4 separate regions of the Homo sapiens genome follow, and regions 2, 3 and 4 are each linked to region 1. Evidence: promoter capture Hi-C in 16 types of primary human blood cells and fetal thymus (Javierre and others, 2016). All regions are on one chromosome and are shown on one strand. The core of a region is centred on a gene start or on the middle of the fragment in contact, and the rest is flanking DNA. Distances in the headings are between cores, read along the strand shown. Region 1 holds the start of LY96 (lymphocyte antigen 96). Region 2 has its middle 13 kb from the start of RPL7. Region 3 overlaps RDH10 (retinol dehydrogenase 10). Region 4 overlaps STAU2 (staufen double-stranded RNA binding protein 2).

The links. Contacts are between HindIII fragments. The CHiCAGO score rates a contact against its expected background, and 5 or more counts as called.
Region 2: a contact is called between a fragment that was not itself captured here and the fragment with the promoter of LY96 in region 1, in 3 of 17 cell types (monocytes, total CD4 T cells and activated CD4 T cells). The highest score is 6.9, in monocytes.
Region 3: a fragment that was not itself captured here is called in contact with the fragment with the promoter of LY96 in region 1 in 4 of 17 cell types (M0 macrophages, naive CD8 T cells, activated CD4 T cells and 1 more); the score reaches 6.9 in M0 macrophages.
Region 4: a fragment that was not itself captured here is called in contact with the fragment with the promoter of LY96 in region 1 in 1 of 17 cell types (M2 macrophages); the score reaches 7.4 in M2 macrophages.

Annotation. Positions count from the first base shown.
Region 1 is chr8:73,989,810-73,992,913 of GRCh38, reverse strand. LY96 (lymphocyte antigen 96) reads right to left here and starts at 1,522. Exons shown (of 5, transcript NM_015364.5): 1 at 1,360-1,522. The coding sequence starts at 1,471. RefSeq lists enhancers at 741-810, 1,181-1,280. The HindIII fragment of the contact is 3,298 bases long and covers 1,492-3,104 here.
Region 2 is chr8:73,279,116-73,282,219 of GRCh38, reverse strand. It overlaps a transcript of C8orf89 not described here. Among named protein-coding and RNA genes, the nearest start is that of RPL7, 13 kb to the left of the region's middle. The HindIII fragment of the contact is 2,364 bases long and covers 365-2,728 here.
Region 3 is chr8:73,307,671-73,310,774 of GRCh38, reverse strand. The region is part of intron 2 of RDH10 (retinol dehydrogenase 10); the gene reads right to left. Among named protein-coding and RNA genes, the nearest start is that of RDH10, 15 kb to the right of the region's middle. The HindIII fragment of the contact is 1,785 bases long and covers 681-2,465 here.
Region 4 is chr8:73,460,049-73,463,152 of GRCh38, reverse strand. All of the region lies in intron 13 of STAU2 (staufen double-stranded RNA binding protein 2), which reads left to right. Among named protein-coding and RNA genes, the nearest start is that of STAU2-AS1, 42 kb to the right of the region's middle. The HindIII fragment of the contact is 5,817 bases long and covers 1-3,104 here.

The sequences.
Region 1 (3,104 bases), core at 273-2,772:
CACTGCACTCCAGCCTGGCAACAGAGCAAAACTCTGTCACACACACACACACACACACACACACACACACACACACAGTGGCATAATTAGCACATGGTACAAAAGAGCCAAAGGAGGAGAGGGAAGTGGGGGCCAAGTAGAGTAGGAGCCTTGCTGGAAGAGGGGAATGCAAAAGGATCTTGCAGCATGGAGAGATTTTAGACATACGTTTGGAGGGAATTCAGTGCAACCCACCAGGAGAAGGGCCATGGTGTGTGACTGGCCACACTCCTAAGTCTCCTCCTCACATGTGGCAATTATCCCAATTTCCCGAAAGTCACTTTATATTAGCATTTGGCAGAGCATGTTTCTCAAGAGAGTTAACATACACTCCAGACTAAAACACAAACAAACAAACAACAAATGAAATTGAAAATGTGGTTAAACAGGTGCCTTTATTGCAGAACTTCTCAGAACCCAAAGTACATCTGTAAATCTCTCCCAGATGATTAGGTCATAGATCCTATTTTCCCAAAAGAATCTCAAAGAACTGGTATTTTGGGAAGCACCACTTTAAACCTCCCAGCTATTGCTAGTGGGTGGAAAAGGGCAGCCAACCCATGGTAAGCAGCACGGTGGAAAGTACCGAACCAAAACAGCTGTCAGGCCTGACACTGTGCCTTCAGATCCCAGGACACTTGCTAATGAGCAGCTGGGGCAGGGGACAGTGACACAGCCAGTGAATAGTATTAGGGTATGGCTGACTCCAAAAAAAAATTAAGAGTATTATTGTCTCTATGTGACCCTATGCTAAAAAACTTCACCTCACAACACCCTTATCAAGTAGACTATAAAATCACTTTCACTTCAGTGCTAAAAAGGCTGGAGTACTTTGCTTAAGGTCACACAGCTAGTGACAGAACCAGGCTTTCATCCAGTGAGGGGGATGATTCCAAGAGCACTCAAGAGTCACAGCTTAGAGCAGAAATCAACTCCAGGAAGCAGCTGGGACTGCTCTACCATCTCAAGAAGAAGAACTAGTAAGTGTCAAGGCTGAGGTGAAAGCTCAGAAGCAGATGGTTTTATTAAAAATGGGCAGAACCAAAAACTGGGCTCAGGGTAGAGAAAGATGACGCAGGGAACAGAAGCACTTGGAGGTCAAGCACAACACAGTTTAGAGACTCACAAGCTCTGTGAGTGGTCGAGAACATTCTCATGGGGCAGCTGCCAGCTATTGCTTTTCCTGCTGGCAGCGTCCGCCACAGCAGCTGGAACACACTGATGTTTCGTGTGTTCCAGCCACAACAGTGTACGGTTCTCGTGAAAACTTACCCTCAAAATAGTTGATGCTACAATTATTTGTTTTGCGGTTTTACTTACCACAGTAGGTGTATGAAATACTTGCATCGGATGAGTTGCAGACCCAATACTGCTTCTGAGCTTCAGTAAATATGGAAGAAAACAGGGTGGAAAAAAACAGAAATGGTAACATGATTCAATATCTCCAAAGCTTTACAAATGCAAAGAGGATCAGTAACTAATCATCAGACTCTTCCTTTTCAGTAAGCAGAAAAGATTTAACTTAGTCATCAGTCACATGATTTCTGAGTTCCTATCCAACTGTTTCCTCTTTTTTTGTGTGTGTGTGCTCAACATTTGAGCACTTCCTGTAAAGGAAGAGAGAAAAATGATTTAGAATGTACTCTTCAAACACTTACTGTAAATGAGAGTGATCAAAGACTTAAAAATAAAACAAGACACTTTGGCCAGGCACGGTGGCTCATGCCTGTAATCTCAGTATTTTGGGAGGCTGAGGCAGGTGGATCACTTGAGGTCAGGAGTTCAAGACCAGCCTGGCTGACATGATGAAACACATCTCTACTAAAAATACAAAAATTAGCCAGGTGTGGTAGTGCATGCCTGTAATCCCAGCTATTCAGGAGGCTGAGGCAGGAGCTTCACTTTATCTGGGAGGCAGAGGTTGCAGTGAGCCAAGATGGCACCACTGCTCTCCAGCCTGGGCAACAGAGCAAGACTCCATTTCAAAAAAATTTTTTAAATGAAAAATAAAATAAAATAAACAAGACAATTCCCAGTCAACTGTAACAAAACCAGTCCCTAGGTCCCCCTGAAAGTCTCAACAGACAGGCACTCCTTTTCCCTCTGCATTATTCTTCTCTCCTACAGCTCTGTATAACAGCAGTCCCCAACATTTTTGGCCTCAGGGATCAGTTTCATGGAAGACAATTTTTCCACGGACTGAGGGGATGGGGAGGGATGGTTTCAGGGTGAAACTGTTCCACCTCAGAACATCAGGCATTAGATTCTTATAGGGAGCACGCAACCTAGATCCCTCGCTTGTATACTTCATAACAAGGTTCCTGCTCCCATGGGAATCTAATGCTGCTGCTGGTCTGACAGGAGCTGGAGCTCAGGTGGTAATGCTCGCTCACCTGCTGTTAACCTCCAGCTGTGCAGCCCACTTCCTAACAAGCCACAACCAGATTCCTAACAGGCCATGGACTGGTACTGGTCCACGGCCCCCAGAGGATGGGGCCTCCTGCTTTATAAAACAAATTCTCAGCTGGGCACGGTGGCTCATGCCTGTCATCCCAGCATTTTGGGATACCAAGGTGGGTGGATCACTTGAGGTCAGGAGTTCAAGACCAGCCTGGCCAACATGGTGAAATTCCGTCTCTACTAAAAATATAAAAATTAGCCAGGCATGGTGGCACACACCTGTAATCCCAGCTACTCGGGAGGCTGAGGCAGGAGAATCGCTTGAACCCAGGAGGCAGAGGTTGCAGTGAGCCAAGATTGGGCCACTACACTCCAGCCTGGGCAACAGAGTGAGACTCGGTCTCAAAAACAAACAAACAGGCCAGGCGCAGTGGCTCACCTCTGTAAATCCCAGCACTTTGGGAGGTCAAGGTGGGCGGATCACCTGAGGTCAGGAGTTTGAAACCAGCTTGACCGACATAGTGAAACCCTGTCTCTACTAAAAATACAAAAATTAGCTAGGCATGGTGGCAAGTGCCTGTAGTCCCAGCTACTCAGGAGGCTGAGGCAAGAGAATTGCTTGAACCGAGGAGGTGGAGTTTGCAGTGAGCCAAGATTATGTCACT
Region 2 (3,104 bases), core at 297-2,796, 710 kb after region 1:
TTTAGTTATTTTTGTGTGTTTTTTGTGCACGTGACACATTTATGTGTATATCGTACATGCTTAATGAATATATTTAAGTGAGTTACTACATTATTTGAGAATAAAAAGTCACATGTATTAGCCTATTGCTAGCTGTAGTGACAAACAGATCCCAACATTTTCTTGATTTAACATAGAAAAGTTATTTCTTGCTCACATAACAATTTCAAGGTAGGCGTCCCTGGTCAGCAAACGGCTTGCTTTCACTTGGTAGAAGGACCCAGACTCTGCCATTCGTCAGCACTTCACTCTTGTCTAAATCCAGTCAGCAGAAAGGCAAGGAGAAACTATGGAGAAAGCATACTTGCTTAGCTTCTTAGAAGCTTCTTGCAGTGTTACACATTACATTGGCTCACATTCCAGTCACAGGGAGGCAGCCACTTCCTAGAACAAACGCTATTCTCTGGAGGAGGAGCCAGGATTTTAGTGGACAAACAACCTTCTCTCCCACAGTTGATTTCTACTTGTGAAAACCTTTGGGACTTAGCTTGAACATCACTTGCTCAAAAAGCAAAAACAAACAAATAAACAAACAAACAAACAAAGAAAACCTTCCTACTTCTCCAGTCTGGTTAAGGTCAGCAAAAGTTCTGTTGTGCCATAGAATTTGAACGTAGCTTTATCGTAATGAACTAATTACTCCTCCCCACTACCTCCCATAGACCATGTGCTTTATCTTTAATCATTGTTGTATTACAACTACTAGCACAATGCATGACATGAATAAATAAATATCTTTCTCAATGAATCTATAACTCATCTTTCTTTATGTTCACTTGGTAATTATTTTGGTTCAAACAACCCTAAAATTAAAGATTATTTTGCCACCTGCTGTTTGACATTTGAGTTATTTTCATTCTCTTTTCTATTATAAGAAATACAGGAATTGATATTCATGTATCAATGATTATTTCTTTTTCTTTTTGTGGAGACAGGGTCTCATTATGTTGCCTAGGCTGGTCTCAAACTCCTGGGCTCAAGAGATCCTTCTGTCTCTGCCTTCTAAAATGCTAGGATGACAGGTGTGAGCCACCACACCTGGCCAGTGATTATTTCTTTAGGATAAATTCCCAGAAGTAGAATTGCTGGGTCAAAAATATATACAATTATAAGGACATGTATATTACTAGATTATTCGCTGGAAATATTACACCAATATATACTCCCACTGAAACCTTATTCCTTGCACTCCATCTTACTCTATTAATAGTAAAGAAAAAAATCCCTGCCATTTTGATTGGCGAAAGTAGCTCATTATATTATCTGCCTTTTATTTGAGTACTAGAGAGAATGAATTTTTTATTGACTGTATTTTCTCTGCAACAAGTTACCTGGTCTTTAATAAATGCACTCTCAGGATTATTTTTCTTTTCTTTTTTGATTTTAATATATACATATATGTATATATGTATGTATGTATGTATATGTGTGTGTGTGTATATATATATGTGTATATATATGTGTATATATATATGTATATGTATGTGTATATATAAAATAAATTACTGGCCAGGAGTGGTGGCACATGCCTGTAACCCCAGAACTTTAGGAGGACGAGGTGGGTGGATTACCTGAGGTCAGGAGTTCAAGACCAGCCTGGCCAACATGGTGAAACCCCTTCTCAACTAAAAATGCAAAAAAATTTAGCTGGGCCTGGGGCCATGTGCCTGTAATCCCAGCTACTCAGGAGGCTGAGGCAGGACAACTGCTTGAACCTGGGAGGTGGAGGTTGCAGTGAGCTGAGATCGTGCCACTGCACTCCAGCCTGGGCAACAGAGTGAGACTCCGTTTAAAAATAAATAAATAAATTATTCAGTTCTTTATGTCATTATTTAAAAAGCTATTCTGGGAACTTCTGGGCAATGTGGCAGACTGAGCTGGCATGGAAGGGTCCCCATTTTGCTTCAATATATTTCAAATGCTGAGTAAAAGATAATTTATGGAAATGTGGCTAAGCTAGGAACAAAGAAAAGGAAATCCCCAGGTGCCTGAAATGAAGGAATGTTCACAGAGAAAGCCACCGTTGAGCCATCTGCTGAAAGCTGGGAGTCACAAAGAAGTACTGTTCAGTTACTATGGCTTCATAACAAATTTCTCCAAAACTTAGTGGTATGAAACAACCATTTATTGTGCTCATGGATTCTGTGGGTCAGGAATTCGGACAGTGCACAGCAGAGACAGCTTGGCTCTGCTTCAGGATGTCTGGAGCCTCAGCTGGAAGATTTGAAGGCTCAGGACGGGAATCTCCTGAAGGTTTATTCACTCACATGTCTGGTGGTTGATGCTGGCTCTTGACTGAGACCTTAGCTGTAGATGTCAGCTGTAATCTTTGTATGTGGCCTCTCCATGTCACCTGGCTTCCTCACAAAATGGTGGCTGGATTTCAAAGGTGAGTGTCCTGAGAGCCAAGTGGAAGTCATATCACTTTTATGACCTAGCTTTGGAAATCACATAGTGTGGTTTCTACTGTTTTTTTGTTTGGCTGAGGAAGTTGGTTTCAGGGAAAGAAACATCTCACCTCTTGATGGAGGAGAGGAGGAACATCACAGTGAAGGAAGAGCATGTGGGACTGCATATGCATTAGTACACCTATCTTTGAAAAATAAAATCTACCACAAGAACCCTTTGACCCTAAGAAGATAACTAGAAAAACATCCCCTTATTGACCTGAGGAGGCAAGAAGGAAGCTTGCCATCTACTTGAGCTATGGTAAGAAAAGAGTCAGCTGCTAGAGATTAGAGATTAATGGTCCATACTAGCTCAAGTCTGGGGTCTGAATTCATATTACTACATGGTCAGGACCGTAGTCCAAGAAATTGACATTTTAGCTGGTCTGGTACCTCTGACACCCAGGGCCAGGCAAAGATCAATGAAAAACCTCTCTGCATAGCAAAGTTCCTGTAATTCAAGGAATCCTTGACTTCTATAGATATCGATCTCTCTATAGATGAGTTTGCAAAGATTACAGAATATGTAAGGAAATTAACTGCAAGGAAGCAGACTTGGCAGATGCTGCAAACGGGAGATTTGTACCCTAAAACTAAATAGAATGGCATAGAAAAAAA
Region 3 (3,104 bases), core at 324-2,823, 680 kb after region 1:
AAACGAGTGTTTGATGATCTCCTTCAGCCTCAGGCCCCTCCCCCTATTTAATAACTCTTTATGGAATAATGAAAATAACCCACAAAATTGCAGCCAAATAGCTTGCCAAACAACAGGCTGTCATTGATCTCTTTGCTTTGCCCCAAACTCAAACTGCTTCTCAGAAATTGTAATAAAGACAGATCTTCCAAAGGGCAGAGGCTTCGGTTCTGCTCTAGTGACCAGTAACTACTTCCATGACGCATAAACACATGCATGCGAGCTTAGCCACTGCTCCGGCCATCTGCAGTGGCAGACTTCTTAGCCCCTGTTCCAACAGCACAGCTCTCAATGTCCCCATCATCAACCCCTGTAATTCCTAAGTGTAAATAGTTCAAATTCTTCCCTGCTTTCTAGTTTGCTTACTGTGAAATCTTTAAAAAGTTAAAATCTTTACATAAATGAAGGGTAAATATATTCAAGAGATTACACCTGAAAACTTATTCTGTTTTTAAACATGCACTGTTAGAACTTAGAATTCACTCAACACATATGAGGGTCTATGAGGTACCTACATTGGGATAGGCATTGTTAAAAAACAAAAATAAGTATTTGTGAACCTCTTAAAGGATTTTAAAGATTGCAGATGGCAACTTTCCTATAAATCAGTGGTTTGGTACATTAGAATCACCTGGGAAGCTTTTCCTCCTGGTGTTCAGGTCACCTCTCAGACCAATTATACCAGAATCTCCAATGGGAGAATCAGGCATCAGGAGGCAACGTCCCTCAGGTGGTTCCCATTTGTAGCTGAGTTTGGGAACCAGTGCTCTAGAACAGCGTTTCTCAATCTCAGCACCATTACATTTGGGGCTGGGTAATTTTAAGCCATAGGATTGCCCTATGCATGGAAGGATGTTGAAGCAGCATCCCTGACCTCTCTCCACTAGATGCCAGCAGCAGCTCCACCAGTCTGACAAGAAAAATGTCTCCAGATGTTACCAATGTTTCCTGGGGGCAAAATCACCCACATGAGAACTACTCACTAGAAAGAACATGTACATTAGGAAAGGAAGTCCCGTATACTCCAGTGATGATTGTCCCTTAAGTTTTCATTCTCATATTGTAATGACATTTTCCAGGTTTGGAATATATTTGGGGCTGGAAATTGAAAAAAAAAAAAAAAAAGGCAACAACTTAAATATGGACTCAAAACTTCATCACTTTTAGTTTCTATACTTCAAACCACCACTCCACCATGAAATTAAGAAGTACCTTTGAAGGACAATAATACTGATCCAACAAGTCTGATATATTCTAGCTACCTCACAGAGGAACAATATTGAAATGTCATAGAAGATGACACCAATCACTTACCAATCACAACTCTGGTTAAACCACCGAAAATATCATTACTAAATTATGAGAACTGAAAAAAGAAAACTTCCTTTTAAGGACAACAAATATACATGAGACACCATTCCTTCCATTATCCAGCAATGCCACACAGTTCTTCACTGGCCGGCCCTGACTTTCTGCTGTGGTGCTTAGGGCTGTGAAAACTCCACCCTGGGCAGAGCAACCATTCAGACACTGGACCTGAATCAAAATTTAAAAAATAAACCTAGATCAGAGTGGGCCCCAGAGTGCGTGGTCTGACATCTTCCTAGGTACAAGATTCCTAAAGGGCTGGTTAGCTCAGGAAAAAAAAAGTGTGTGTATGTGGGTAAGGGGGAGATGGAATATTGAAAAAGTGGGAAGAGTAGTTCCTCTTCAAACTTTGGCGCACATGCGTGTAGGAATCACCTGGGCTCTGAATCAAATGCAGACTCAGATTCAGTAGTTAGGTGGTGCTGCTGTGGCTGCTCGGGACTACAAGCCGAGAAGAAGGTTCTAGAGTGAGCCTGAGCAATCTGTCTACTCCCAACCTCACGTGGCTTCAGATCAACTCTCCTAAGAGTTCAGTGAAACAGGCAATATAATTGATCCTCTTTCTGTTCCCAGTGCCTCCTACCCCTAGCATTTATCAGGTAAAGCCTGGTTCAAATCAATGCCAAGAGCCCCTAGTGCAAGAGCCCCTAGTATGAATGACCATGGGACTTTGTGGACTGACTCTATGTCTATTTACCTTGGATCCATTTTTAGCACTAGCAAGCCACCCAATCCCATTAGAACAAAGTTTGTAAAGAAGAAACCTAAAAGACTTCAAATCCTTCCCTCTGCATCCACAGAGGCTTTGAAGGCTTAGCTTTCAAGACAGGGACTGTAGACTCCGTCAGCCTTGGCACTTACCTCACTGGCTTTCCAACTTTACCTTGGACAAGTGAACCATAGAGGCTTTTATACTATGGTAAGCCTGTGAGAAAACCTCATTTAGGGAATAATTACCCCTTTATAGATCACATGCTTGGACTATAAGTTTGGACACTACCAGTGGCCCAAAGTGCACAATTTTGAAAATCCATGATTAACATTTCAAAGGCAAAGCTTATGAAGCTATCTGGAATTCTGATCCCATAAGAATATTATATAACAGAATAAAGGTTTTACATTTTGTTAGGAGATAAGCTAACAAAATGAACTAAACTAAAACCACACTTAACTGATATTTTGGTACCAATTATTCATAGAACTTTGTTCAGCCAGTCCTTGTAGAAGAGCCCTATCCATTCGTGACTTTTTTTGTGTCTAATTTGTCAATGCTGATATGCAAACTAGGAAGAGAAAGAAGGAAGCTGGGTGACGAAGGATGCACTACACTATTCTCAAGGAAATAATAACTCTCTCCAATACAAGCTATGGAAAAGTACAGAAAAGGCCCAGAAACACGCAAGTTGGGCTTTCGTAATAAAATTCTAGTATAGTATTGGTTCTTCAGGCTTGAATTTTACATGCTTGTCTAATCTACAGAGCAAGCTTCCTGGGGATATTAAGCTAGGGTTAATCAGTTACTGCTAAACTAACCATGCTAATAAAAAATCAACATTTGAAGATTAATTCTTACACTACACCACAGGGCAAAACTCCTAAGTGACTCATAGGAAAATCTACCTACTGTACCAGGAGCTTTGAACTTGTAGCCCACAGCTAAGTATTTGTACAGGCTCTAACCTGGAAGCCTAGGCTGA
Region 4 (3,104 bases), core at 417-2,916, 530 kb after region 1:
ACTTTCTAGTAAGCATCATAACTACTAAATAATTTGTCCATGATCACACAGCCAGGGGTCAAACCCAAGTCTACCAGATTCTGCTTCTCCACTGTGCCTCAGGAAGTGCAAGTGGAGAGGCCGGCAGGCAGGCATCCTGGAAGGAAGAAGAAGGGGCTTTCCCATTGCTTCTTCATATGACTGCCTTCAAAGAAGTCATTATTCTGCAAAAACATGTTCAGAGAAGGTTTCTTCACCATCATTGGCTACACCCTCTGGAATCCCATAGTCTTTGCTGTGTATACTCTAAAGGCACTCAAAGAAGTTGTCTTTTTTTAATACTAGATATCATAAAGACATTAAATTTGACTAACACATATTTTGGCATATCACAATATAGGCAAGGCTTGAAGTGCATAGATGCAGCAGGAATAAGGAAAATCTTTTACATATTTTTTAGGTTTATAATGTTTTATTGGCCAGCTGTGGTGGTTCGCGCCTGTAATCCCAGCACCTTGGGAGGCCTGGCAGGAGGATTGCTTGAGCCCAGGAGTTCAAGACCATCCTGGGCAACATGGGGAGACCCTTTCTCTATAAAAAAAATACAAAAATTAGCTGGGCATAGTAGTGCATGTCTGTGGTCCCAGCTACTTGGAGGGCTGAGGTGGGAGAACAGCTTGAGCTCAGGAGGGGGAGGTTGCAGTGGGCCATGATCATGCCACTAAAGTCCAGCCTGGGTGACAGAGCGAGACCCTGTCAAAAAAATAAAATAGGCCAGGTGTGGTGGCTCACACCTTTAATCCCAGCACTTTGGGAGGCCAAGGCGGGTGGATCTTCTGAGGTCAGGAGTTCAAGACCAGCCTGGCCAACATGCCAACATGGGAAAACCCTGTCTCTATTAAAAAAAAAGAAAAAAAAATACAAAAATTAGCTGGGCGTGGTGGCAGGCACCTGTAATCCCAGCTACTCAGGAAGCTGAGGCAGGAGAATTGCTTGAACCCAGGAGGTGGAGGTTGCAATGATCCAAGATCATGCCACTGCAGTCCATCCTAGGTGACAAAAGCAAAACTCTGCCTCAAAAAAACAAATAAATAAGTAAATAAAAATAAAATAGGTGAAATTTTTTTACCGATAGATGTGAACAAAAAGTCATTCTATATGGGGGATAATAAGAGAAAAGATGGAGGGATGGGGTGATGTGGCAGGCATGGCTTAGGTAATCAAAGCAGACAAAGAAGCAGGAAGATCGGATTGACAAAGGTGAAGAGCCTGGGCAGAGCTGCTGAGAACCAGACAGCTGGGGCCCTGGGTGTGGCCACACGGCTGGGCAGAGTCCCAAGTGCAGAGTTCTTGGGGACTGTCCAGTTCCATCCCTGCAGGCTCTGAGTTTGAGTTCCCCTACATTCCACAGATTGGTGAAAGCCCGCGGTTGCGTTCCTGCCTGGCTTCTGCTTCTCCCCACCTCATTCTCTCCCTCCTACACAGTCTCCATCCTCCTCCTACTTGCTGCCGTGCTTGTGCTTGTGCTCTCTGTTGGCCTCTTTGCTGCCACCAGCATGACATGATGCAAGTGGTATCCTCTCCTTAGCATGTGCATTTAATACATAGAAGAAATGGTGTGGAGCTTCCAAAGTCACCTCATATTTGCCATGTTACTTATGACTCTACAAGGTTTATGATTGTCTTTCAAACCACAGAGGATGGCTTCCACTGCTTATCCAATAAAGCATAGCTCAGGTATCATTTCCTGTATTACTCCTCTGAGCCCCATCTTCCACCTACCCACTTACTAAGGCTGGAATAATTATTACTCCTTTGAAACTAGCCCTTACTAGGAAATACTCAGATGGCCTGTAGTGTTTTCCTTCCCACTAGCTCATGAGCTGTTTTTGATCTGTCGTGTATATCTGTGTAATAGTGAGAGATATTATGTCCTGCACATCTCCTGTGTGCCAAGCACTCTGCTAAATACTTTGTGTGCATTGTCTCATTTGAGGATAGTCATTGAAGAAACTGAGACTTAGAGGGGTAAAGTAACTTCCCCTAAGTCTCCTAGCCAGGTTTCAGGCCAGGTTGGTCTGACTCTACAGCCTGTATCACCACCCACTACCCAATACATTCGAAAGAACTTGGCACACAGTTACCCAATGTATGTTGGGTGAACTCAACTGAAAGAAGGAAAATAGTGTGGAGAGAGGAGAGGAGCAGGCACACCCCAGAAACAGAAGCTCAGAGCTACAGTTCAGGCTCTCGGTCTTAAGCTGGTTCTTGTGTCAATGGCTAAACCATTGGAATGAATTGCTCTCAGAAGCGTATGAGAAATCTGAAGGATGTGACCAACCTACCATAAGATAATGTTAGGACAATCTTAGAGCTCCTTGTGACTTTGGTTTGAAGAATATATATAAAAATAAAGCTGTGTATAGTGTCTGGCACTAAATAATTATGGCTGTCATTCCAGAAGCAACTGATAATGCCTCTGTTGTCACCAAAATGGAGACCTCCAAAGCAACTAGAGAATGCACAAGACAGCTCAAGTCTAGAAGACCATGGATCTAAGAGTACTCAGAGCCTTAGCAGAGAACAAGTCATCCCTGCCACTTAGGCATTTTCCTCAAAAGGCCAATGTAATAATTATTTAGCCATCCTTTACCTCTGTTGGGTACTCACATCAATTTCCAGGAAAGGTGACAAGGAGTTTTTAAGCTAGATGTCGTCAAATGTGTTTAAACTTGTTCAAAACCTCTCTCGTCCCCTGTAGTAATTCACCATACATGTTTAACAAGAATTAAGAGCCCCCAAGTATTGAATCAGTAATTTGTGCTGTCTGTCAAATAATGTCTCTCTTCTAACCTGGAACAGATGACCTTGCCCAAACCACTTTAGTCAAAACAACAACAATGCCCTCCTGCCCCCATTTTCTTCTAGTTTTTGTTTGATTAAATATAGAGACCACAGCTATTCCGTAGCATCGAAGAGGCTAGAAGGAATGTTTTGCCAGAAACATAACTTGTCAGGTACCTCAGGCTAAGACCCTGGGAATCTTAAGAAGATACAGATACATAACTTGAATTGCATCTGAGCTTGGGTTGGCAGCCACTGCTGAGTAGAGGGAGAGGGTGAAG